3 separate regions of the Homo sapiens genome follow, and all the other regions are linked to region 2. Evidence: promoter capture Hi-C in 16 types of primary human blood cells and fetal thymus (Javierre and others, 2016). All regions are on one chromosome and are shown on one strand. The core of a region is centred on a gene start or on the middle of the fragment in contact, and the rest is flanking DNA. Distances in the headings are between cores, read along the strand shown. Region 1 overlaps ADAM15 (ADAM metallopeptidase domain 15). Region 2 holds the start of TDRD10 (tudor domain containing 10). Region 3 overlaps DCST2 (DC-STAMP domain containing 2).

The links. The method cuts DNA at HindIII sites, captures the fragments that hold promoters and counts their contacts. A CHiCAGO score of 5 or more calls a contact.
Region 1: a contact is called between a fragment that was not itself captured here and the fragment with the promoter of TDRD10 in region 2, in 4 of 17 cell types (naive B cells, non-activated CD4 T cells, activated CD4 T cells and 1 more). The highest score is 7.5, in naive B cells.
Region 3: a contact is called between a fragment that was not itself captured here and the fragment with the promoter of TDRD10 in region 2, in 1 of 17 cell types (activated CD4 T cells). The highest score is 5.8, in activated CD4 T cells.

Annotation. Positions count from the first base shown.
Region 1 is chr1:155,058,339-155,062,376 of GRCh38, reverse strand. It overlaps ADAM15 (ADAM metallopeptidase domain 15), which reads right to left. Exons shown (of 23, transcript NM_207197.3): 15 at 3,936-4,038; 16 at 3,590-3,667; 17 at 2,403-2,475; 18 at 2,034-2,172; 19 at 1,545-1,614; 20 at 888-962; 21 at 402-473; 22 at 8-132. The region is part of intron 1 of DCST1-AS1 (DCST1 antisense RNA 1); the gene reads left to right. ADAM15-EFNA4 (ADAM15-EFNA4 readthrough) reads right to left here. Exons shown (of 26, transcript NR_176418.1): 15 at 3,936-4,038; 16 at 3,590-3,667; 17 at 2,403-2,475; 18 at 2,034-2,172; 19 at 1,545-1,614; 20 at 8-132. Among named protein-coding and RNA genes, the nearest start is that of EFNA4, 3.4 kb to the left of the region's middle. The HindIII fragment of the contact is 4,923 bases long and covers 1-3,711 here.
Region 2 is chr1:154,500,157-154,504,379 of GRCh38, reverse strand. It overlaps TDRD10 (tudor domain containing 10), which reads right to left and starts at 2,161. Exons shown (of 13, transcript NM_182499.4): 1 at 1,351-2,161. SHE (Src homology 2 domain containing E) reads left to right here and starts at 1,968. Exons shown (of 6, transcript NM_001010846.3): 1 at 1,968-2,944. The coding sequence starts at 2,354. The HindIII fragment of the contact is 2,286 bases long and covers 1,085-3,370 here.
Region 3 is chr1:155,026,133-155,030,108 of GRCh38, reverse strand. DCST2 (DC-STAMP domain containing 2) reads left to right here. Exons shown (of 15, transcript NM_144622.3): 7 at 1-25; 8 at 712-876; 9 at 3,394-3,561; 10 at 3,707-3,807. Among named protein-coding and RNA genes, the nearest start is that of DCST2, 5.7 kb to the left of the region's middle. The HindIII fragment of the contact is 6,271 bases long and covers 1-3,976 here.

The DNA of each region.
Region 1 (4,038 bases), core at 1-2,500, 560 kb before region 2:
CTCCTACCTGGAGGGTACCACTAGGGGCGGGATTCCAGCCCCTGGGCCGGGCAGGTCACCCGATGGGCACCGGCCCTGGGGGTCGGCAGGCAGTGGCTTCCTTGGGGGTGGGGGCTTGGCTGGCCCCTGAGACTGAGGGAGAGAAGGCAGGAGGCCGGCTTAGGTGGGGGGGTGTCATGTTGCCCACCCCCAACGCACTGGTGCTGGGGAACACCAGCTTGGGGGCAGCACCAGCGGTCACCCTTGTCTGCAAACAAACCTGTCACCATTAAAGGCACCACCGGGATATGTGCCCTCATGCACTGAGGGGGCATCTCGCCACGGCCACCACCGTCATGGCTACCAGCACCACAGCCCTAGGTGGGGGGAGAGGCCGTGCCCTTCTCTCCCCCCACCGTTACCTTCGGGCTTCTCACCACCGGGTCAGCGGGCAGAGGGCGGGTAGGGGGATTGGGTCGGTCAGCCAGCTCAGCCTGAACAGAGAGAGGGGCAGTGGCTGTGAGAGCATAACCAGGGGCTGTGGACATGCACAGAGATTCCCCAGAGGGGTTCAAGTCAACATGCAAAGTCAGCCAGGGGGCAGGAGAGAATGAGGGCATGCGCAGAGGGCTTGGAGGCATGCCAGCTGATGTCTCAGGGGAGGAAGGTGTAGGTCAACCGCAGTCCCTGGCCGACTGCAGTCCCGCCATTGACCACCAGATGGTGGTAGAAACCAAGGCAGGAGGCTCACCCTTTGCTGCTTCTGGGGCTCAGAGTGTCTGAAGGCTGAGGGGCACCCCGATCACCTAATGAAGAGCACCACTGGCAGGGAGCAGGGATGAGAACTGCAGTTGGGTACCAAGCCTCCCACCTGCCTTGGCTCAGGGCGGGCCCTGGCCCAGATTTACCTGGAGTCTCTTGGACACAGGGTCAGGCGGCAGCGGCCTGGAAGGGGGGGCCGGGAAGCTGAGAGCACTAGCCTGCTGAGAGGGCAGGAGGGGCAGATAGGCACAGAGGGGGAAGAGGAAGCAGAGAGACAGAGTGGGCAGGGAAGGGTCAGTGCCCAGGGGGGGCCAGCAGGGGCCCAGGGCAGTGGGTGCTGTGCATGCAGTTATGCAGGTGCATGCAGGTGGGGAGCGAGTGGGGAGGAGGTGTGCACACACTCCCATCATCCAAGCAGAGGGCTCAGGGTGGGGATGCTCACCAGCCCTTCTAACATGGTGACCTGGGCCTACGGAAGGCCATTCTGAGCACCACTGCCCTTGTGCCCTCCTGGGGTCACTGCTGGGGGCATGGATAGATCCACCTCTCAAAGCCACCTCTTGGCCAGCGGACGGAGCCCAGCAGCTCCTGCTCCAGCTGGCTGCCCTCCCCACTCTTCTGGACTCAGCTTCCCTGCCTGTAGCCAGGGGAGGGGAGGGCAGGGCTGGCCCTGACTCCTTCGACTGACTCTTGGGCAGTGCTAGCCTTTCTCTGAGTCTGGAGCCTTTAATGCGCACCCCCCAGGGCCCAAGCTGGATGCCCGGCCAAGGTGGAGTCCCCTTCCTCTGGCATCCAGGACTCACCTTAGTGCCTCGTGCCAGCAGGGCCCTCTGCGGAGGTCCTGGCCGTTCAGAGGGACCAGATTGGGCTGCCCTATGCATGAGGAAAGGCAAGAAGGGAGAGGGCCCAGCCTCAGACCCTGTTTTCTACCATATGCCATCCCTGAGTGGGGTTAACCCTTTGCAGGCACTTATGTGTGGTTTAGGTAAAATTGTGGTAGGGCCGGGGTGGGGGGCAGTATTTATTAGCTTGAGGGAAGACCCTACTTATCCAGCACAGGGGCTCCTGGGGAGAAATGGCCCTAGCAATCCAGCCACCCCACAGGGGCACAGCTGTGAGGTAAAAAGCTGTGGGCACATATAGGGAAGGGAGGTGTGGGGTATGGCAGTCAGCAACTTTAAGGTCCAAGGGGCCTGGGGCTCAGAACCAGGTGGCAGGGGCTGCAGAGGTGAGGCAGCCTTCAGCACTGTCCCCAGTTGAAGGAAGTGGTAGCAGGGAGGTGATGCTCATACCTGTACTGGCAGGTGGGTCCCTTGAGCTGGCAGAGTCGCTGGTGCAGGCGGGCACGGTACCAGTAGCTGGCACCAAGCATCACCAGGACCAATAAGACCAGGAGGCTGAGGAGCAGCCCTGTGGTCAGGGAGCTGGTTGCTGTGGGCGGAAGTCAGGTTTAAGGGAGGACGGGGCTAAGAACTCTAGATCCATGAAGGCGCAGGGGGCAGGGAGTGAAGTCAAGTGATCAGGGAGAGTGAAGGGTTCAAGGGGCACAGACTCAGGGAACCAGCAGCAAAGGGGGGTCAGAAAGAGAGGGCCGAGGGGGCAAGATAAAGCATGAGACGCTTTGCCCTCCCAGCTGCCCCTGTCCCCCACCCCCATGCTACCTTTGAGCTGAGTGGTGCAGTCAGGGGGTGCCCAGCCCTCCTCACAGTAGCAGTGCCTGTTGCTGTCACAGACCTAGGAGGTACAAGGCGAGCAATGAGGAGCTCTGCACTCTGGAACTATTTCCTTGTCTCTAGCTTTTCAAGATCTCAGATTTCTACAACTGGGGGTTGTGCTGGGTATGTGTGTAGAGACAGCCCGGAGGGAGGGTCTTTATCCATACCAGAGCAAATTAGATCAAACTAACACTTACTGAGCTCCTTCTGTGTGCTGGGCACTGTGGTACATGCTTTCTTTCTTTGTGTTTGTTTTGTTTTGTTTTATTTTATTTTATTTTAGACAGCAAGTAAGATGGAGTCTCACTCTGTTGCCCAGGCTGGAGTGCAGTGGTGCAATTATGGCTCACTGCAGCCCCAAACTCCTGGGCTCAAGCAGTCCTCCTGCCTCAGCCTCCCAAGTAGCTGGGAGCATAGGTGTGCACCAGCAGGCCTGAATAATTTTTAAATTTTTCCTTGAAAGAGATGGGGGTCTCACTATGTTGACCAGGCTGGTTTTGAACTCCTGGCCTCAAGTAATCCTCCTGCCTTGGCCTCCCAAAGTACTGTGATTTGGCTGGGTGCAGTGGCTCACCCCTATAATCCCAGCACTTTGGGAGGCTGAGGCGGGAGGATCACTTGAGGTCAGAAGTTCAAGACTAGCCTGGCCAACATGGTGAAACCCATCTCTACTGAAAATACAAAAATTAGCTGGGCATGGTGGCGGGTGACTGTAATCCCAGCGAGTAGGGAGGCTGAGACATGAGTAATGTTTGAGCCTGGGAGGCAGAGGTTGCAGTGAGCCGAGATCACGCCAGCGCACTCCAGCCTAGGCAACAGAGCGAGACTCTGTCTCAAAACAAAACAAACAAACAAACAAAAAAACTGTGATTATAGGCATGAGCCATTGTGCCCAGCCTGTGCTAGATGCTTTCATACTCATCTCATGTACCCTGGATGGGGATACTATTATTATAGCCATTTGATAGGTGGGGAAACTGAGCTCAGCAAAGTTAGTAACCTGCCCGAGGTCACACAACTGGGAAGTAGTAGAGCAAGGATTAAAACCCAGATATGTCTATTTCCAAAGCCCAGTATCCTTTTCCTCTCTAGAGGCTCTCTGCTCCCCTTCCACTTCCCCCATCCCAGCTCACCCCATGTCCATGGCATTTGCTTCGACATTCCTGTGCCCCCAGGAGATCCACACGCTGGCATCGATGGTCTATACACACCTGACCCAGGGAGAGAAGAGCCTGGATCAGATTCCCACAAAGCTTTAATGGGACTGGGAGGCCAATAAGGTTGAGGCCATACCCTGCGTTTACAGATGGGGAAACCAAGGCATAGTGAGTTGATAGGACTTTGCTCCATCTGAAGTAAGAAACTGACTTCCCTTGGAGTCCCTGCCTTTGACATTGGTGAATGGTGAAGTCTGGGCTCTGTTCATTGTGGTCCAAATGTCCCTTCTCACACCTGGTCTTGCCCACCCAGGCTGCTCACCAGGCCAGGGCCACAGGCTGTGCCAGGCAGAGTCAGGAGGGGCTGGGCCACATCACTGCCCAGGTCCAGGTGCACCCAGCTGCAGTTCAGCTCAGTCCCATTC
Region 2 (4,223 bases), core at 912-3,411:
TATTCAAGAGAAATTCAAATATGTGTCCACACAAAGACTTTTCCACAAATATTCATAGCAGTGTTGCTTATAATAGCCAAAAAGTGAAAACAATCCAAATATCCATCAACTGATGAATGAATAAAGTGCTGTATAGCAATACAATAGAATATTATTTGGCAATATAAAACGAATGTAGTAGTAATACATGCTATACGACCTGGATGAATCTGAAAAATGATGCTAAGGGAAAGAAGGCCACATATTGCATGATTCCACTTCTCTGAAAAGTCCTGACTAGACAAATCTATATAGACAGAAAGTAGATTAGTGGCTGTCTAGGACTGGGAAGGCGGAGAGGGAAATGAGGAGTGACTGCTAATTGACGGGAGATTTCTTTTGGGGGTGATGGAGATGTTCTAAAATTAGATTGTTGCGATGGTTGTACTGTAAACACACCAAATATACTGAAAACACTTGAGGTGCACACTTAAAACAGGTGAATTTTATGGTATGTGAATTATATCTCAATAAAGCTTTAAAAAAATGTCACTACGCATTTTCAAGAACGTCAGTATGAGCACGCATTTCTTCATTTTAGCTTTCCCACCTCACAAACCACCACCCACACAAATGAGGCCGTCCACAGTCGCCATCATTCTGTTTCCATTGTATATGAGGACTCAGTGTTGGTCAGCCCCTTCAGCACATTTAGTTTGCTAAACCAAAAGATTTCCGTTCAGTAAACTAAGTTTAAATTTCTTTTTTTAAACCAGAAAGGTGTTTTTTTGTTTGTTTGTTTTTTGTCTTTTTGAGACGGAGTCTCGCTCTGTCGCCCAGGCTGGAGTGCAGTGACTTGATCTCAGCTCACTGCAACCTGCGCCTCCCGGGTTCAAGCGATTCTCCTGCCTCAGCCTCCTGAGTAGCTGCAACCATAGGCGCGCACCACCACGCCCGGCTAATTTTTGTATTTTTAGTAGAGACCAGGTTTCACCATGTTGGCCAGGCTGGTCTCGAACTCTTGATCTCAGGTGATCTGCCCGCCTCGGCCTCCCAAAGTGCTGGGATTACAGTCGTGAGCCACCGCGCCCGGCCTCAGAAAGCTTTTAAAGGGCTTCGAAGGGAGGGAGGAATGGCAGAGGCGTCTTTTCCCTTAAAGTGGCCACAGTTCTGCACACGGCACTCCCCGCCCGCACAAATCCAGACTAGGAGGGCCGCTCCCAACCGGCGCGAGCGAGCGACGGCCCCGCGGGAACAGCGACCCCTTTCCCCCATCAGTCGGGACGAGGGCGTTTCCCATGGCTGCCTGCCGACGCCCCTCCCTCCCAACCCTCGCCTGGCATCCCGGGACCTGGGGCCGACAAGCCATACCTCGTCTCGCGGGCCACGCGCGTGCACCTGCGATCGCGACGCCCAGCCTTCGCGCCTTCTCCCTCCGCGCTCCGCCCCCTCTGAGCCCGGGGGCACGGGGCGGGGCTTGCCGGCAGCCAATCCCCGGCGGCCACGGCGGGAAGAGCCTCGCGCTGCCCAGGACCGTGTGCCACCGAAGAGTAACGGAACTAGCGCAGGAGCTGGCGACCGTTGTCCCTGCGCCCGGACCTCGGGCCGCAACCTCTGCCCTACCGCCAAAAATAACGTCTGCAGAAAGAGTGGAGTAGAGCGGAGTGGGTGGGCGAGGGGCTTCCTTCCCGGGGGTGAGCGGCGCACGTGACACTCCTGGGCGCGTGTGAAGGCAGCGCCCGGCCGAGACCGGCTCGGTGCAGACGCGGGCTGTCGGCGGCAGAAGGGGGCTCTCTGCTCAGTGGGGCGCGGCCGATCCGCACGTGCGGCCGCCGCCCCTTTCTCCAGAGCTCGCAGCCCGACCCGCCTCTGCCATGGCGCTCACCCCGCCGCCCCCAGCTCTGGGCAGGAGGTGGCGGGGCTGGGAGGCGCCAGCCGCGGAGGGGAGGGGCGCGCGGAGTTGATGGGCCGCTCGCCGTCCGTCCACCGTCTGTCGCTGCGCCGGGGATACTCCCGCCGCCTCCGCTCGGTCCTCTCTGGTCCCTGGGAGCGTGGGCTGGGCCGCAGGGGGCTTCCGTGGGCCTGGCCTCTCCCACCGCAGGAGGAAAGAGCAGGGGGAAGCCCCCGGCGCCCGCCGCCTCCGAGAGCCACGGTGTCCTCGGGCCGGGCAGGCGTTGAAGACGAGCCCGGGCGGGGCCCCCCGCGCGTCGTGCCTGTCGCCTGCCGTGTCCGGAGCAGAGGCTAGCGCCCGCCCGCTCGGCGCCCCGAGCCGTGAGAACCCCACCCTGCCGGGCGTGGGCGACGGCCGGCCGGGGGCGCACGGAGCAGCCGTCGCGGGGCCTCGCCGCGGCCTCCAGCGCCCCAGTCACGGGGAATGCAGTGGTCCCCGACCCCTGGCGCCTCTGCGTGTCTGGGCTGGGCTTCCTCGCTCGCCTGCTCCACGGCCCCGACGCTCCTGGGCCGAGCCGGCCGGGGCCCCCTCATGGCGGCCAAGTGGTTCAAGGAGTTCCCCCTGAACCTGAAGACCGTGTCGGAGCGGGCCAAGCCCGGGGGCGGCGGCGGCAAATTGCGCAAGAACTCGGAGGCGGGCGGCGCTGGGCCGGGTCCTGGCAAGGGCCGCAAGAACTCGGCGGCCGAGCTGGGGAGCGGCAGGGCCGGCGTCGGCCCCAAGGACAGCCGGCTGTCCCGCGACAGCCTGCAGGGTCTGATTCAGGCCGCCGCGGGCAAGGGCCGCAAAAACTCCCGGGCCACGGAGGAGGAGCCCCACCGGGGTGCAACCAAGAGCTCGGGCTGCAGCACCTACATCAACAGGCTCATCAAGGTGGACACTCAGGAGAAGAACGGGAAGAGCAACTACCCCAGCAGCAGTAGCTCCAGCTCCAGCTCCTCTTCCTCCGCGTCCTCTTCCCCTTCCTCCCTGGGGCCCGAGCTGGACAAGGGCAAGATTATTAAGCAGCAAGAGACGGTAAGAATACAGCCTCCCTTGGACCACCTCTCAGTCGAAGGGGAGCCCTGGGCGCCTGCTAAGCCCTAGGCTTCTTTAGACCTAAGAGGCAGTGAGGATAGGTTTCCTAAGGTCCTTTCTCCCTCCACCATTTGGGAATTCCTGACCATTTAAAATTCTTAGACTGTTTTTTAATTCTTGAAAAACTCTTATTTTAGAGGTGGGGAGTTTTGCAGAAATGTACTAGCCATTGAATTTTGTTAGCAGTTTAGAAGAGTCGTTGAATGAGATATTCCTGTTTGGTTACATTTGACCCCTTTATAGATGTGGTTCATTTTAATTTTGATATTCAGGGGAATTGCAAAGCTAGGCTTGTGTATGACTTTTATGCTTCTTGAGCATAAGGAATGGTAACCTCTCAAGTGTGTAGATATGCATTTCAAAGCTTCAGGAAATGGTTTAACCAACAGTCTTCTCCACTGATTTGGAAGTTCCATCATTTTCTGCGGTTCCACCGAGTAAAGGGCTCCTCGGAGGTTCAGCAAATCTCCAAGACTGCTGCCCTTTCATTCATTCCATGGGCATTTGTTGCGCAGCAGCCATATGAGGAAAGGAGCACAGGGCATTAAGGGCTGTGGAGGATACAGAATATGACAAGGAAATGCTCTCAAGGAAATTACAGATGAGAAGAGAGGGTGTTTCCTGCGACGGACACACTGGAGGTTTTCTGGGTGCTGTCCAATGTGGAAAAGTTAAGAAAAGGAGTGTGAACATAGGAAGGGACTCCCTCCATTCTTGCTGAGATGAGTTGGTCCGATCTGGTTGTTTTTATCTTCTCTCCGATGTGAAAGGGGGAGAGAGAAGAGCTCAAATCGAGATTTCAGACTCCGGTCCAGGCAATCACTTCCTAACATGCATGGGAGCTTTAATTTTCTCTTGCCCAGGCTTCAAACATGCTACCTCCCTGGTTGAAGTCAAGAGCCCATAACACATGCTGTGTATGTCTGCATTGGGCACTTCTGTTCATTCTTCCATTCATTTTTTCATGCTGTAAATACAGCATGCCCACCCTGAGCCAGGCACTGAGTGGAGAGCTGTGTAAAGATGGACGGGGACCCAGCTCATATGTTATTCAGTGGTCCACCTGACTGTGTGACTAGATCACAAGCACCTTGAAGCCAAGGGCTCACTGTATCTTGCAAATGCGGTACACATGGTGGGTAGTCAAGAAAAATGGATTAAGTGAATGGCAGTCGCAGTCACAGTCCCTTGCAGTGGTTGTCTGGTTATTTTTATGGTT
Region 3 (3,976 bases), core at 551-3,050, 530 kb before region 2:
GAGGCCAGGCGCTACATCCCACCGGGTGAGGGCCCTGAGGACAGGGAGAGCCCAAGCCAGGGAGGCCAGGGCTTCCCCCCACCCCGCTGCCCTGCCCCTAAGCCCCTGCACAGGCAGGGCTCAGGATGGGCTTGGGGCAGGGGCCAGAGGGAGGAGACACAACCCAGAGCTTAAGGAACTTTCAGGCTGAGGGAAGACACTGCCCGGTCCTTGGGGAGCCCGCAGTCTGAAAGGGGGAACATAGACACCCTTGGAGAAAGTAGCCAGAGACAAGAGGGGCAGATGGTGCTTCTGGGAGCACCCTGGACATCAGGACAGCAGGGGATGGACACAGAGCGAGGGAAGTCAAGTTGGGAGGGCTTCCCCGGGGTGGGCAGGAAGTGCTAATATGGAGGGGGAGGACTGCCTGTGAGGTGGGGAGGCAGGTAAGGGGATGAGGGATGCCCTAGGAGGGAGGGCTCCTTAGACTGGAATGGGCCACAGGGCCAGGTGGAGATGCTAGGCAGGCCCCTCCCTTCTAGCCACGGAGCCCCCTCCCCTGAAGAGTATTTTCCATCCTTGCCAGAGTCCTCACAGCTTCTTTTCTTTTCCGTATTCCTGATGAGCAGACGGGCCCACACCTGATTAGGGGCAGGAGGCCTCTCCAAGAACTGGGATCTGGTGGACGGGAGAACTGGGGAGCATCCTCCTGACCATCCCACTCCTGCTCAGGCTCCATCTTCTTGTCCCAATGGGAGAAGTTTTTTTACATTCTGGAGACCTTCAACCTTATCCGACACCTCCTCCTCGTGCTGTTCCTAGTCTTCCTAGACTATGCTGTCTTCTGGGTGCTTGACCTGGCCCGGCACCAGCTGCAGGGGGAGATTGTGGCCCGCAGTGAGTGCCTACGTGACAGCCTCCTCCCACTCACCCACTGCAGCCCCCTCGGCCTGTTTCTGATCTCCCCGCCTGCTCCCAAGCCTTCTCCTCTTCCCATCCTCAGTCCTGGTGACTGCCTGAATGTCCCCATGTCACTGTTACTCAGCAGCCCACAAGTGTGCCACTCTTTCAACTCTATGCTTTGCCTAGTAACACCTATGTCTAGGTCAAGATTATAACTTACAGAGTAGTTAAAAATGCAAGCTCTAGAGTCACACTGGCCAGGGTTCAAATCCCAGCTCTGTCCTTTATTAGGCGGTGACCTTCAGCAAGTTGCTTAACCTCTTCAGCTTCAGTTTCCTCTTTTTTTTTTTTTTTTTTTGAGACAGAGTCTCGTTCTGTCACCAGGCTGGAGTGCAGTGGCGCCATCTCGGCTCACTGCCTCCGCCTCCCAGGTTTAAGTGATTCTCCTGCCTCAGCCTCCTGAGTAGCTGGGACTACAGGCACATGCCACCATGCCCAGCTTATTTTTGTATTTTTAGTAGAGATGGGGTTTCACTGTGTTGGCCAGGATGGTGTTGATCTCTTGACCTCATGATCTGCTGGCCTTGGCCTCCCAAAGTGCTGGGATTACAGGTGTGAGCCACCATGCTTGGCCTTTTTTTTTGAGATGGAGTCTCACTCTGTCACCCAGGCTGGAGTGCAGTGGTGCAATCTTGGCTCACTACAATCTCTGCCTCCCGGGTTCAAGCAATTCTCCTGTCTCAGCCTCCCAAGTAGCTGGGACTACAGGCACATGCCACCATGTCCAGTTGTATTTTTAGTTGAGACGGGGTTTAACCATATTGCTCAGGCTGCTCTCGAACTCCTGACCTCCGGTGATCCACCCACCTCAGCCTTCCAAAGTGTTGGTATTACAGGCGTGAGCCACTGTCCTGGCCCAGTTTCCTCATCTGAATAGTGGAATAATAATGGTAGCAACCTCTCTGGGTCACTGTAAGGAATAAATTAGATTATGTGTGTTGGGGCCAGGCGGGTGGCTCATGCCTGTAATCCTAGCACTTTAGGAGGATGAGGCGGGTAGATCACCTGAAGTCAGGAGTTTGAGACCAGGCTGGCCAACATAATGAAACCCCATCTCAACTAAAAATACAAAAAATTAGCCAGGCGTCGTGGCAGGTGCCTGTAATCCCAGCTACTTGGGAGGCTGAGGCAGGAAAATCACTTGAACCTGGGAGGCAGAGGTTGCAGTGAGCCGAGATCCTGCCACTGCACTCCAGCCTGGGCAACAAGAGTGAAACTCTGTCTAAAATAATAATAATAAAATAAAATAAAATAAAATAAATTATGTGTGTCGAGTGCCTGGTAAGCCATTAATTGAGAATGTGAGCCAGGTGCGGTGGCTCACGCCTGTAATCCTAGCACTTTGGGAGGCTGAGGCAGACAGATCACCTAAGGTCAGGAGTTCAAGACCAGCATGGCCAACATGGTGAAACCTTGTCTCTACTAAAAATACAAAAAAATGAGCCAGGCATAGTGGTGGGCACCTATAATCCCAGCTACTTGGGAGGCTGAGGCTCAAGAATCACTTGAACCCAGGAGGCAGAGGCTGCAGTGAGCCGAGATCACACCACTGCACTCCAGCCTGGGTGACAGAGTGATACCCTGTCTCAAAAAAAAAAAAAAAAAAAAAAAAGAAGTAAAAAACTCCTAAAAAACAAAAACCAAAACCCCAAAACAAACAATAAAGCACTTGGTTAAGTGTCTGCTACACAGTCAGTGCTCAGCCAATAAATGTTTCTGGGGGTCTTACTCGGTGGCTCACACCTGTAATCCTAGCACTTTGGGAGGCTAAGGCAGGCGAAGTGTCTGCTACACAGTCAGTGCTCAGCCAATAAATGTTTCTGGGGGTCTTACTCGGTGGCTCACACCTGTAATCCTAGCACTTTGGGAGGCTAAGGCAGGCGGATTGCTTGAGCTCAGGAGTTTGAGACCAGCCTGGCCAGCATGGTGAAACCCTATCTCTTTACAAAAAAAAAAAAAAAAAAAAAATAGCCGGTCGTGGTGGCACGTGCCTATAGTCCCAGCAACTTGGGAGGCTGAGGCAGGAGAATCACTCAAACCTGGGAAGTTGAGGCTGCAGTGAGCCAAGATCACACCACTGCACTCCAGCCTGGGTGACAAAGTGAAACCCTGTCTCAAAAAATAAATTAAAAAAAAAAATAAATGCTTCTGGGTGGTCATGGAGGCCGGGGGGTGGACTCACTGACCATTAAGGTCATCTTAGATATGGTGGCTTGGATAGGAAGACCAGACACCAGTACCACCCAGTTGGACCATGGGGCCAGTCCTAGGAGCCAGAACTGAGGTCAGGCCCCAGGGCACCATGAGGGTGCCTGAGGCATCAGAGGCCCCCAGCCAAGGGTCTGAGTCATCCTATGACCTGCGCTGCTCCACTTTCCTCATTCCAGAAGGTGTGGGGTTTTCTGCATAGCAACTGCCATGAGTGTCACTCACACAGTGTCTTTGTGCCAGGTCCTGTGTTGGTGTCTCTAACCGTGGAAGGTACTGGCTACGCTGGGAATATTTATCGTGACCTGGTGTCAGCATTTGATGTCCTGCAGCAAGGCAACATCAGTATTTTGTCCCGGCGTTGTCTCCTTCGTCCCTCGGAGCCTGACAGCACTGGCTACATAGTCATTGGTATCAACTACACCCTGAGGTCCCTGGGGGCGTGGACACCATGTGGGAAATGAGGGGTGCAGACTGCTGAGGATGTGGGGGGCGCCAGGGGTGGGCTGGCACTTGTGCCTGCTGGTGAGGCTGACTGTGGCTGCTGTGCTCCCAGGCGTCATGTATGGCCTATGCTTCTTCATCACCCTGTTTGGCAGCTATGTCAGCCGGCTGCGGCGAGTCATCTGTGCCTCCTACTACCCATCCCGGGAGCAGGTGAGGGGTCCGGGGCTGGGAGCTAGTCCCTGCCCCCTCCCCAGGGGGCTTAGCTAGTGGCTGGCTTTTTTGGCTTTGGGAGCTGACTTCCTTCAGCAGCCCCAGCCCGCTCTCCTCTGGTTGAACTCCAAAGCAAATGACCTGGACTGCAAGCCTCTGGACCCAAGAT